Regions from separate parts of the Homo sapiens genome. Here all the other regions are linked to region 3. The links are contacts of gene promoters, found by promoter capture Hi-C in human tissues and cell types (Jung and others, 2019). All regions are on one chromosome and are shown on one strand. Each heading gives the region's core, a stretch centred on a gene start or on the middle of the fragment in contact. The rest is flanking DNA. Distances are from core to core; before and after follow the strand shown. Region 1 overlaps ATP9B (ATPase phospholipid transporting 9B (putative)). Region 2 overlaps LOC105372225 (a long non-coding RNA gene). Region 3 holds the start of CTDP1 (CTD phosphatase subunit 1).

Region 1 (3,498 bases), core at 653-3,152, 570 kb before region 3:
AAATTTTAATACTGAAGTTTAAATTCATGATTATTTTGTGCTTAAAAGAGATGAATTTGATACCTTTTCATCATTTTCTGAGGTATTTTTAGAAACTCTATACTGTCTACCCCAAAATAATGGTTTGGATGACCAAGAAGGGGAAGAGTTGTGCTCCTGAAACCCAGACACTATTGGAACAGGGTAAATGTAAAATTAAAATATTTACTGCATAGATGAAGAGAGCTATGTGGAAATACAGTCAAGCTTTTATTATCATTAGAATATCACAGGAAACATTTGTATCCTCTTTAAATATTGGATTGAGCTGTCTTTTTTTTTTTTTTTTTTTAAGATGGAGACTCACTCTTTCGCCCAGGCTGAAGTGCAGTGGCATTGTCTTGGCTCACTGCAATCTCTGCCTCCCGGGTTCAAGCTATTCTCCTGCCTCAGCCTCCTGAGTAGCTGGGATTACAGGTGCCTGCCACCATGGCTGGCTAATTTTTGTATTTTTAGTAGAGACGGGGTTTTACCACATTGGCCAGGCTGGTCTTGAACTCCTAACCTCAGGTGATCCGCCTGCCTCGGCCTCCCAAAGTGCTGGGATTACCGATGTGAGCCACCACGCCTGGCCTGAGCTGTAAGTCTTAATATTGCATTAGTTAATACTACTGGAAAAGTCATTTTTTAAGAGTGGAAAAAGTGATTATTACTTCAGAGAATGAGCCACATCCTGGATTAATTGAAATCCAAGGACCTTTATCATTGAAAAGTGTATTGGGAATTACCAGTAGGTAACCTATAGCTATAGCTATACCTTTTCTCGACATATAGAGCATTGACTGCTTCAGAATATTAATGGTTTTATTTTGCCAATAAGAGTGTCTAAACAGAAAGATAATTCCCCTGGGGTACATTTATATAAGACTTTGTATTTTATGTCAAATTTAAATTTGTGTAACCAACCTATTATAAGAAAAACCCCACAAATTAGCATTAGGTGTGCTATTAGTGTGTGGTGAATACAGAAACAATCAATATTGACTCTAAATATGTACAATTAGTTTGAACTTTTTTAAAAAGCAAAAAAAAATACACAATACGTATCTTTTGTTTCATACAGTTGCTGTGGTTGGCTGATAAATATTTGTCGAAGAAAGAAAGAGCTGAAAGCTCGCACAGTATGGCTTGGATGTCCTGAAAAGTGTGAAGAAAAACATCCCAGGAATTCTATAAAAAATCAAAAATACAATGTGTTTACCTTTATACCTGGGGTAAGACTATTGCATTCTTGGAGATGGGTTGTGTGTCAGAGATTGCTGGCTTCCTTTGCTATAGGATGGAGCCTGTTGAGACTCTGACTTAGGTATTGAGTTGTGTCACATCCAAATCAGTGTCCTTTTGCTTTTGAACCATCTGTGTTCCCAATAATCGCTAAATAATTCATATGTATTTTTAATGGCTACATCATAGAGTTCAGCTCAAGAAAATGTACAATTTGATTATTGCCTTCAGTTCTTGATAAACATCATATTTATATTATTTTAGAAATATAGACATAATGAAGTAAAAGTAAATAAAATTAACAGAAAACAAGTTATACGTTTTGTTTGTCTGGGAACTAGTTTGGAGAAAACAGTAAATGTAATGTTTAAACCCTGCCAAGAGATTTCGCAAAGAAAATGAAACAATTTTTTATACTGAAATGATACAGTAACAAAGTATCTGTAATATGCATATTTATATATAGATGTCTTTGCTACTTCACATTATAAATCTCAGACCTTCTTATATTGTTATATCGTTAGTTATCTTTAATTGGGTATTATTGCTAAATTTAAATACTGTAGTTTAAATATTTTATTACTTTTGTTGCTAGTGATATTACTGGCTTAAATTATAAAACAGTTCATATACAATTAGAATAGTTGAATAATTTTTGTGTTTTGTATGTCATTCCTTATTTTAATAGATTTATTTATCTTTCTAAAGGAAAAGGAAGCTGGTATTGATTATATTTCTATATCAAAGTTTTTGGCATGTTTTATGTCTTTTATTTGCAAGAAAAGCTCTTGATTACATGGAATGTGGGTTGCTTTATCTTGTATATTTAATTTAAATAATCATGCTGACATTGTATTTGGCATTGATTTTACTCCCACCCCCACCTCATCCCCATCCACCTAGTGATTGGCAAATACTTGATATCTAATGCACTTCTTTATTAAAACCCACAAAACTAATGGCTTCATAATTAAAAGACAGACCTTTTGTCAGGATAATAAAATGTAAACTGTCTTACAGGCAGATAAATATTCGCATCTTTATTGAATGAAGCCACTGTTTTCTGCTTAGGTTTAAATTATTAAATACTCACAGATCTCAGAGATTGGCTAAGCAGTGTACGTTTTCCTAAAGGTCAGCAGGTTCAGTCAGTAGACTGTAGAGTATTGATTGCAGTCGTTTAAAGCCAGCAGTGCAGCTTAACTTTGATCAGTGTAAGTCCACACAGCCTGCCCAGATTGGCCGCATGCTGAAAATACCTGTGGATGTGACTGTATGATGATTACCATGTGTATGAGTTTTTTATCTTAGATCGTCTCTGAAATTAGTCTTTTCATCTAAAATGTAGTATTTTAGAAACATTTGGTAATTACCCAGTAGGAGTTCTATGTCATTTTTACCACGAATGGCAATTTCTAAGTTGCTAATAGATATAATTTATGCTGAGATTTTAAAGAAATCACTAAGGAAAAAGCACTTTATTTCCTGCTGAGATTAATTTATGAAATAATTCAAAACATTCTTAGACAGCAGGTTGAACGTGATTATGAACATAAATATATTGTCAGTGTAACTGATTTTGAGTCCCACACATTGCCGTATGATGATGCAGATAACCTCATTTTCTGAAAACAAGTTGCAGACTCTCTAGTTGAGCAATAAGCACTTAACCCATTGCCCTGCTTGGTGAAATTTTCATACCTTCTAAGTGGCATGGAAATGGCATCCAAAGAGATTGTGATTTGTAAGTTGCAGGTTTGCAAGTTTGATTTAATTGTAGTGTGCTGTTTGAATTATTCTCATCTGTAAACGTAAGTTTTGTTCCATTTTGATTTTCAATGTAAATCTAATAATTAGAGGCGTTTGTAAATTGAGATCTATTAATATGTTAGATCTTGGGTTTTCTTCTCTAAAGATAACTATTTAAAGTGAAAACCAAAACCAAAACCTTTCAGTATTGACATTCCTAAAATTTTATTGAATGATGAAATTTCTTTTATATTTGAAAATATTATTAAGAATTAACTACCCAAAGACCATAAGAGTAGCTGGGTAGCTGTCTTCTTGAAAACTGGTCTGCAATTACAACTTCTTATATTTTATCATTTTTAATGTTTTGAGGGAAGTAAATACCCACAAGAGATTAAGGCAGTCTATCTCGTGAAGTTACACCTGTTCACGTTTGGCTTGTTCATTCAGTCTTTGTAAAGCTACCTGGATGTCCGTGTTAAAAAA
Region 2 (3,753 bases), core at 267-2,766, 650 kb before region 3:
GGCTGGCCAAGATGGTGAAACCCCATCTCTACTAAATACAAAAATTAGCTGGGTGTGGTGGTGGGCACCTGTAATCCCAGCTACTTGGGAGGCTGAAGCATAGAATTGCTTGAACCCAGGAGGTGGAGGTTGCAGTGAGCTGAGATCATGCCACTGCACTCCAGCCTGGGCAACAGAGCAGGACTCCGTCTCAAAAATATAAAAAATAAAAATAAGAAAATAAAGGAATGTACTACTGGGAGATAAGATTGCTATACTCCAACTGAACTGGTAAAATGAGAACACCAATAGACTGTGATCACTAGACATATATAATGTAATACCTAGAGCTGTCACCAAACAAGCTATACAAAGAGATACACTCAAAACATTACAGATAAATCCAAATGGAATTCTACAAAATCCCCATGCCTAAGCACCCACCAATCTGCTCTTTGTTTCTTTGGATTTGCCTATTCTGGAAATATTATACAAATAAATCCATACAATACAAGGCCTTTCACGACTGGCTTCTTTTACTCAGCATAAGTTTTGTCTGCATTGTAGCAGGTACCAGTGCCTCATTCCTTTTCATGGTGAGTAACATTCCACTATGTGGATATACCACATTTTGTAACCCATTCATCAGGATGAACATTTGGGTTGTTTTCACCTTTTGATTATTATTACTAATGCTTCTATACATATTCATGTACAAGTTTTCGTGTGGACATATTTCTTTTCTCATGGGTATATCCCAAGGGGTGGAATAGGTATGTTAAATGATGTCTACATTTCACCCTTTAAGGAACTGCCAGACTGCTTTCCAAAGCAAAGGCACCATTTTGCATTCCCACCAGCAGTATATGTGAGTTCCAATTTCTCTCCATCTTTGCCAACACTTGTTATTGTCTGTCTTTCTCACTGTAGTCATCCTGATGAGTGTAAACTGTTGCCTCATTATGACTTTGATTGGCATTTTCCTAATGGCCAATGTTGAGCATCCTCTCATGTGCATGTTGACCATTTCCACATCTTCTTTGGACAAATGTCTATTCAAGTCTTTTGCCCGTTTGTTATTTGGGTCATTTATCTTCTTATTAGTGAGTTGTAGGGTTCTTTATATTTTCTAGATGCAAATCCCTTGTTAGACATATGGTTTTCAAATATTTCTTTTTCCATTCTGTGGGTTGTGTTTTTGCTTTCTCAATAGCGACCTTTAAAACACGAAAGTTGTAAATTTTGCCATAATTCAATTTTTCCATAGAAATCGTAGAGCTTGAATTTCTTTCATGTTCATTCCTTCCAATCCTATAATTCAACCACATAAATTAGTAAAGGCCCACAGGATAACAGACCTGAGAGAAACAAAACTGGGACTTGGAATTCAGAAAAGTGAGCTGTGATGTGAAAATAATGCCTGGCAGGGCTGGTTGGAATGATCTCTGGGCGACTGACACTTGTCTCTGGGGGCTGAGGCAGTGGCGTTGACGAGTGTGTAGAGGGAGGCAGGAGAGCCGCAGCTGAGTCCGCAGGTGCTCTCTGCTGACAGTGCTGTCCTGGAATGTGCACGGTGAGCACGTGCAGGCATGTAGGCTGTGGTCTGCCACTTGCTGGGTCTGACGGATCTTCAGCAAATGCTTCTCACTCAAGCAATGGTGCCCCCTCACTTCACGCCTCAGCCTACATAAAATTATGAAATGAGATGGGTGAGAATGTGATGATCTCTTCAACTTTTAAATCCCATGGCTGTGTCTGGGACCTTCTGAAGGAAACACAAGTCATCTTCTGTTTAGTTGTCCCAACAGCCACATCCTCATATTCCTAGGTGGCTGAGAGCCAGTGTGAAAAGAATGTGTGCCTAGTTGCCCACATTTCGCATTCCTGAACAATTATTTGTTGACATCATAGGAAGAGCCCAATTTTCATACTTTAATCAACATAATCAAGATTGACAAAAGCAGGTTTCACGATTACTTTTTTTTTTTTTTTGAAATGGAGTCTCACTCTGTTGCCCAGGCTGGAGTGCAGTGGCACGATCTTGGCTCACTGCAACCTCCGCCTCCTGGATTCAAGCGATTCTCCTGCCTTCCGCCTCCTGAGTAGCTGGGATAACAGGCATGCACCACCAGACCCAGCTAATTTTTGTATTTTTAGTAGAGATGGGGTTTCACTATGTTGGTCAGGCTGGTCTCTAACTCCTGACCTCGTGATCCGCCTGCCTCGGCCTCCCAAAGTGCTGGGATTACACAAGTGAGCCACTGTGCCCGGCCAGTACATCTCTTTAACATCCACCATTTATAATGTAATGAGTCTTTATTAACCAGGCACACGTAACCAAGTATTTGGTTAGTGCACAAATAATTTTTGCCAACATAATAAAATATGATGCACGGATGGAGGACAAATCCTGCGATTCCCACATGGTCTGAAATTTCCACTTTGGCCACAGGGCTGACAAAGGTCAACATTTCTGTTTCAAGGCAAAGACTGTTGTCTCATGCCCCAGCTCCAGCCCTGGGCCAGAGGGTTGGGTAGACAACTGTATTAGTCCGTGCTCTCACTGCTATGAAGAACCACCTGAAACTGGGTAATTTATGAAGAAAAGAGGTTTAACTGGCTCATGGTTCCTCAGACTGTACAGGAATCATGGCTGGGGAGGCCTCAGGAAACTTACAGTCATGGCGGAAGGCAAAGAAGAAGCCGGCATGTCTTCACATGGCCGGAGAAGGAGGAAGAGAGTGAAGCGGGAGGTGCCACACACTTTTCAACAACCAGATCTCACGAGAACTCACTCACCATCACAGGAACAGCAAGGGGGAAAGCCACCTCCATGATCCCATCACCTCCTCCCAGGCCCCTCCTCCAACATTGGGGATGACAATTCAACATGAGATTTGGGCGGGGACACACATCCAAACCATATCAACAATGCTGAGCCCCGCCTCCTACCTGGTGAGACCCCGACCCCTGGCAGAGGACCATGCCTTCCTCCCTGCATGTTCTCAGAAAAGAACCCATCATCGTCTTCATTTTAGGGGTTTTTTACAAATTATATGTGTTTCGCCACAAGGGTTTCTGAACTTCACATTTTTATTTTTTACTAGGAAATTAAAAAGAAAAATTTCCCCTTGAAGAACTCCCACTTTTAAAAGTTTTTTCCTTTCAAATTTTGATACTATTCATGTTCATTGTAGAACACATGGCAAATATAAATAAAAATAAAAAGGAGTAAAATCATCCCAAGTCCCACTACTGTTAAATATTTTGGCTAACATTTGTGTGCATTTCTTTCCAGTCTTTCTTGATATATACATTACCTACATATAAACAGATCCCCACGTGACATAATTAGGGCAATATCATGCTGGGCCTAGAGTTTTGTTTCTTGCTTTAGGGGTCTAGTTCTAAAAACATGCACTGCTGTCGGGCCTGTGCTGATTGCTTCTGCGGTGCGTTCTGTGGTGTGGGTATAGATCGAGGTGCTCCCCATGGTTGCCATGATCACACCAGGAAGGTTGTTGTGTTTATATGGGGCTCTGTAATGATGTGATCCTACTACAAGAAGCTAAAATGTGCTTATCCAGCTCCCACTGGGCTGGCCAAAAGGTAAAAATAAAAAAGTGCAGTGATTGCACGGGTTTCTCTGTTTTCGTTTTTTAATTTCTGAAGGCTTTCCATTCCACAAGCACTTATAGGGCTTACCTTATATAATACTTCATACAATACTCGCACTGTTCTAAGAACTTCAGAAATCATGAGTCATTTATTCCT
Region 3 (3,621 bases), core at 580-3,079:
TAAAGGCTCTCTCGTGAGCACCGCACGTTTTCCCTTGTAGTCACGAGGGTAGGGGCTGGAGAAAGCAGCAGAGATAGTCAAAAACCCACAGCTACAAAAAATGCACTCCTAAGAGCAAGTAATGGCGAGGGCTAAAAGGCACTGTGCCCCTTCTGGGCCATTCTAATTACCACATTTAAATGGTTTTGAGAAAAGAGAATTTTTATCTGAGGAACGCGAGTTCTTTTAATTATCAGGCCGAGAGAGACATTCAAATGAGGCGACAATCGCGCCCTACTACCCCTTGACCTGTGTTCACCTCTTTAAACTGCTACTGGTGGCAACAGCGCCACAAACAGCTATAAATTAACCTAATGACGCCACAATGGACACTATACCCACACTCAATAGCTGAACAACATATAGTCAGTCACTAATCAATGTTATTTCTGTAAACCAGTGAGAATTCCTCACAAACAAGTTCCTATTAGTCCACTCCCTGGCCCCCTTTTTTGCCTTTAAAATCCACTGTTAACTGCTAATCGGAGTACACATTCAGGGCGCCTTGAATTTGTGCTCAAGTGTGGCCCAAATAAACTCTCTACTTAGAGAAACTGTGTCTCCGCTCGTTTTCAGGCCGACAGTTTCCAAAATGTTAGTATTCAGCCTAACATGAGAAAAGTCACCATATAAAAGTGAGGGGGGAAAAGCAAATACAGGATAATCTCAATTGTATATAAAATTTATATACGTAAGGACAAAGATACATAGTAAAAAAAAAATTCTGGCAGGTATTAAGGCTGAAAAAATTAAAACAGTCCAGAGCGGTCTGGCTCAGGCCAGCCTGGGCCTGCCGAGTAGCTGGGACCTCAGCCACCGCGCCTGGCTAAGTATTAATGAATCTGTTTTAGAGATAGGGTCTTGCTACGTTGCGCAGGCTGGTCTCCAACTCCCAGGCTCAGGTGATCCGCCCGCCACAGCCTCCCGAAGTGCTGAGCCTCCCAAAGTGCTGAGACTACAGGCCTGGCCGCCCGCCCGCCAGCTTAATTCACGTAAATTCCAGACAAACGTAGAAAGTGGCTCCTTTAGTAAGCCACTTGCGGCTGCTGCTCATCAGGGTTCGCCTGGGGCCACTGAGACCACGCGCCGGTGCCCGCCCTCCCGCTGCGGTCCGATTTTCTGAACCAACCAGGCGCTTCCGGGCGCCTTGCCCCAGACGGGCCCACCGCCTGCGCGGGCCGAGGGCGGCGCACCTGCCCCTGCGCTTCCGCATCGAAGGTGAGGTCGGAGGAAGAGAAGACCGCAACCCCCAAGCTCCCGCGGCGTGGGGTCCGGGGGGGGACACGAGGCGGGGCCACCAGGACGCCGACAGCCTCACGTCTCTGGGCCCGCGGCGCGCAAGGCATGCCGGGACCCGTAGTCCCGCGACGTTGCGACTCACAGTGCGCGATGGGAGTGGAGGAGAGCGGCTCGCGGTGCATGCCGGAACTCGTAGTCTCGGGATGCTGGGTCTCAGCGCGTGATGGGGTAATGGCACGCAGGCCTGCGTTGAACGCTGGGACTCGTAGTCCCGCCATGCTCTGTCCGCGGTGCACGCCGGGATACGTAGTTCCGAGCGCGCCAAGACCGTCACTGGGACTGGGCGACAGCGGCCCGCGTTGCATGCCGCTGCTCCACGGTGCCGGCGCTCCGAGGAAAAGTAGGTAGGGCTCAGGAACGCAGTTCTTCACGGCCGGCACGCAGGGTTGGTCCCAGGACGGAGCCGGCTCCGGCCCCGCGCGGCGCTCGTATTTACACGCGCACGTACGCACGTACGCGGCGCCCTTGCGTGACGTCACGCGCCCTCCAGGAAGTCGGCGCGGGCTAGGCGACGGGTGGAAGCCGGTACCGAGAGGAACTACAGCGTCGCCGCCTGGGTTGTGTCGCCGCGGTAGGCGCTGCGCTCTGAGCGCAGCGCAGGCCCCGTACCGACCGCCCGCCCGCCCTCTGTCCGCGATGGAGGTGCCGGCCGCGGGTCGCGTTCCTGCCGAGGGCGCCCCGACGGCGGCTGTGGCCGAGGTGCGCTGCCCGGGGCCCGCGCCGCTGCGCCTGCTGGAGTGGAGGGTGGCGGCGGGCGCGGCCGTGCGCATCGGCTCGGTGCTGGCCGTGTTCGAGGCCGCCGCCTCCGCGCAGTCCTCCGGGGCCTCTCAGTCCCGTGTAGCCTCCGGGGGCTGCGTGCGCCCCGCGCGGCCGGAACGCAGGCTGAGGTCGGAGCGCGCGGGCGTGGTGCGGGAGCTGTGCGCGCAGCCGGGCCAGGTGGTCGCCCCAGGGTGAGTGTGCTGAGCCGGGCGGGGCCGAGGGCGGGCGGCTCCGGGGAGGGATCCTGGAGGACCCCCGGGCTGCTGCGTCCGCGGTGGGCAGGGGCGCCCCTGGTGAGGGAGCGATAAAGCGGGACGCAGGCACTGCGCTTCTCCCCTAAAACTGGATAGTCACCACCTGTGGTTTTACCAACGGGGAGCATTTTGAGATAAAAGGAAAGGGTCCTGCGTAGCGACACGAAGTTACTGTTTGGAAAAGCTATGTTTGTTTCTTTCTTTCTGCAGTGATAGTCCCCGCCCCTTCCTTTAGCTCCACCTTTGTGACTTAGGAAAACTCATGGGTGGCTGTGAGCACAAGAGTCATCAGGCAGGCTCCAGACCTGTTATTGAAATATAAACTGTTGGGTGTGTGCACATCTTTAAATTTTTGTAAACTTTGTGAAACGCAGTTGTAAAACCTGGTGCAGTTCTGTTTCGTGGCTAAGGAACGGGCGGAACCCAGGCCTGCAGCGAAGGCAGTAGCCCCGTGGTTGACCACAGTGGGCATTGTCGCAGGCTGCTTCAGGGTGACGTGGGCGTTGTGACAGACTCCACAGCTCTCAGTAGCTGTGCTCTGACCCCAGAAGGGGATATGTTTCCGTAGCACCGAAGTGTCCAGCCATGTTTGAATCTACCCTTGTGTTCTGGGATGGGCGGGCAAGTGGACACGCGTGTGCGCCTGGCTCTGGTAGTTTTGATTGTGAGAACAGAAACTCCAGGGAGAGGTGGACACTCCAGCCCGCAGTGGGCCGGGCGTGAGCTCCCTCTGGGAAAGGTGCCGCTCCTTCTGGGGATGCCACTCTCTTCCCTCCTCGGCAGCCGCGGCTCCTCGTCCCTTTGGCTTGCCCTGACCCTGTGTTTGTTGAGGATCTTCTCTGCATCTGGTTCCGCAAGAGTGAGGACTGGGACAGGAGTCTTCCCGTCACAGCCCCAGAACGTCCTGGCTCCGCTTCCTTTGGAGACAGAGCCTGGGTCCTTGACCCTCGGCACGGGCACTCACTCCTGCCCCCTGCGTGCTGGTGGGTGGGGCTGGGAGGTTCAGGGCCTTGCCTCCCAGAAAATGCCTTCACGGCTTCCTCAGTGGGCACTGGCCGTACCTGGGAGGATTGTGGAGGCAGATCCCAATGCTGGTGTATTCCCTGGACAGAAAACCCCAGGATGGAAGATCCCTACTGAGGTTTCATTCTGTTCCTCTGATTGTACAGAAAGGGCTGCTTTGGCCTAGACAGGTGAGTAACTTGGTTATGTGGCAAGTTAGTATTGAAATTCCATGTTCAGTCAGTCTAGTGAATAAAACCAACCCAGT

What was found. Contacts are between HindIII fragments. The study calls those that stand out against the background at their distance.
Region 1: a fragment that was not itself captured here is called in contact with the fragment with the promoter of CTDP1 in region 3 in 2 of the 25 tissues and cell types used here (dorsolateral prefrontal cortex and spleen).
Region 2: a fragment that was not itself captured here is called in contact with the fragment with the promoter of CTDP1 in region 3 in 2 of the 25 tissues and cell types used here (dorsolateral prefrontal cortex and lymphoblastoid cells).

What each region holds. Positions count from the first base shown.
Region 1 is chr18:79,109,253-79,112,750 of GRCh38, forward strand. It overlaps ATP9B (ATPase phospholipid transporting 9B (putative)), which reads left to right. Exons shown (of 30, transcript NM_198531.5): 3 at 1,103-1,253. Among named protein-coding and RNA genes, the nearest start is that of ATP9B, 42 kb to the left of the region's middle. The HindIII fragment of the contact is 7,074 bases long and covers 1-3,498 here.
Region 2 is chr18:79,029,343-79,033,095 of GRCh38, forward strand. The region is part of intron 1 of LOC105372225 (a long non-coding RNA gene); the gene reads right to left. Among named protein-coding and RNA genes, the nearest start is that of ATP9B, 38 kb to the right of the region's middle. The HindIII fragment of the contact is 7,608 bases long and covers 1-3,753 here.
Region 3 is chr18:79,677,974-79,681,594 of GRCh38, forward strand. It overlaps CTDP1 (CTD phosphatase subunit 1), which reads left to right and starts at 1,830. Exons shown (of 13, transcript NM_004715.5): 1 at 1,830-2,288. The coding sequence starts at 1,975. CTDP1-DT (CTDP1 divergent transcript) reads right to left here and starts at 1,772. Exons shown (of 5, transcript NR_136643.1): 1 at 1,421-1,772. RefSeq lists enhancers at 955-1,462, 1,463-1,971, 3,587-3,621. The HindIII fragment of the contact is 29,025 bases long and covers 1-3,621 here.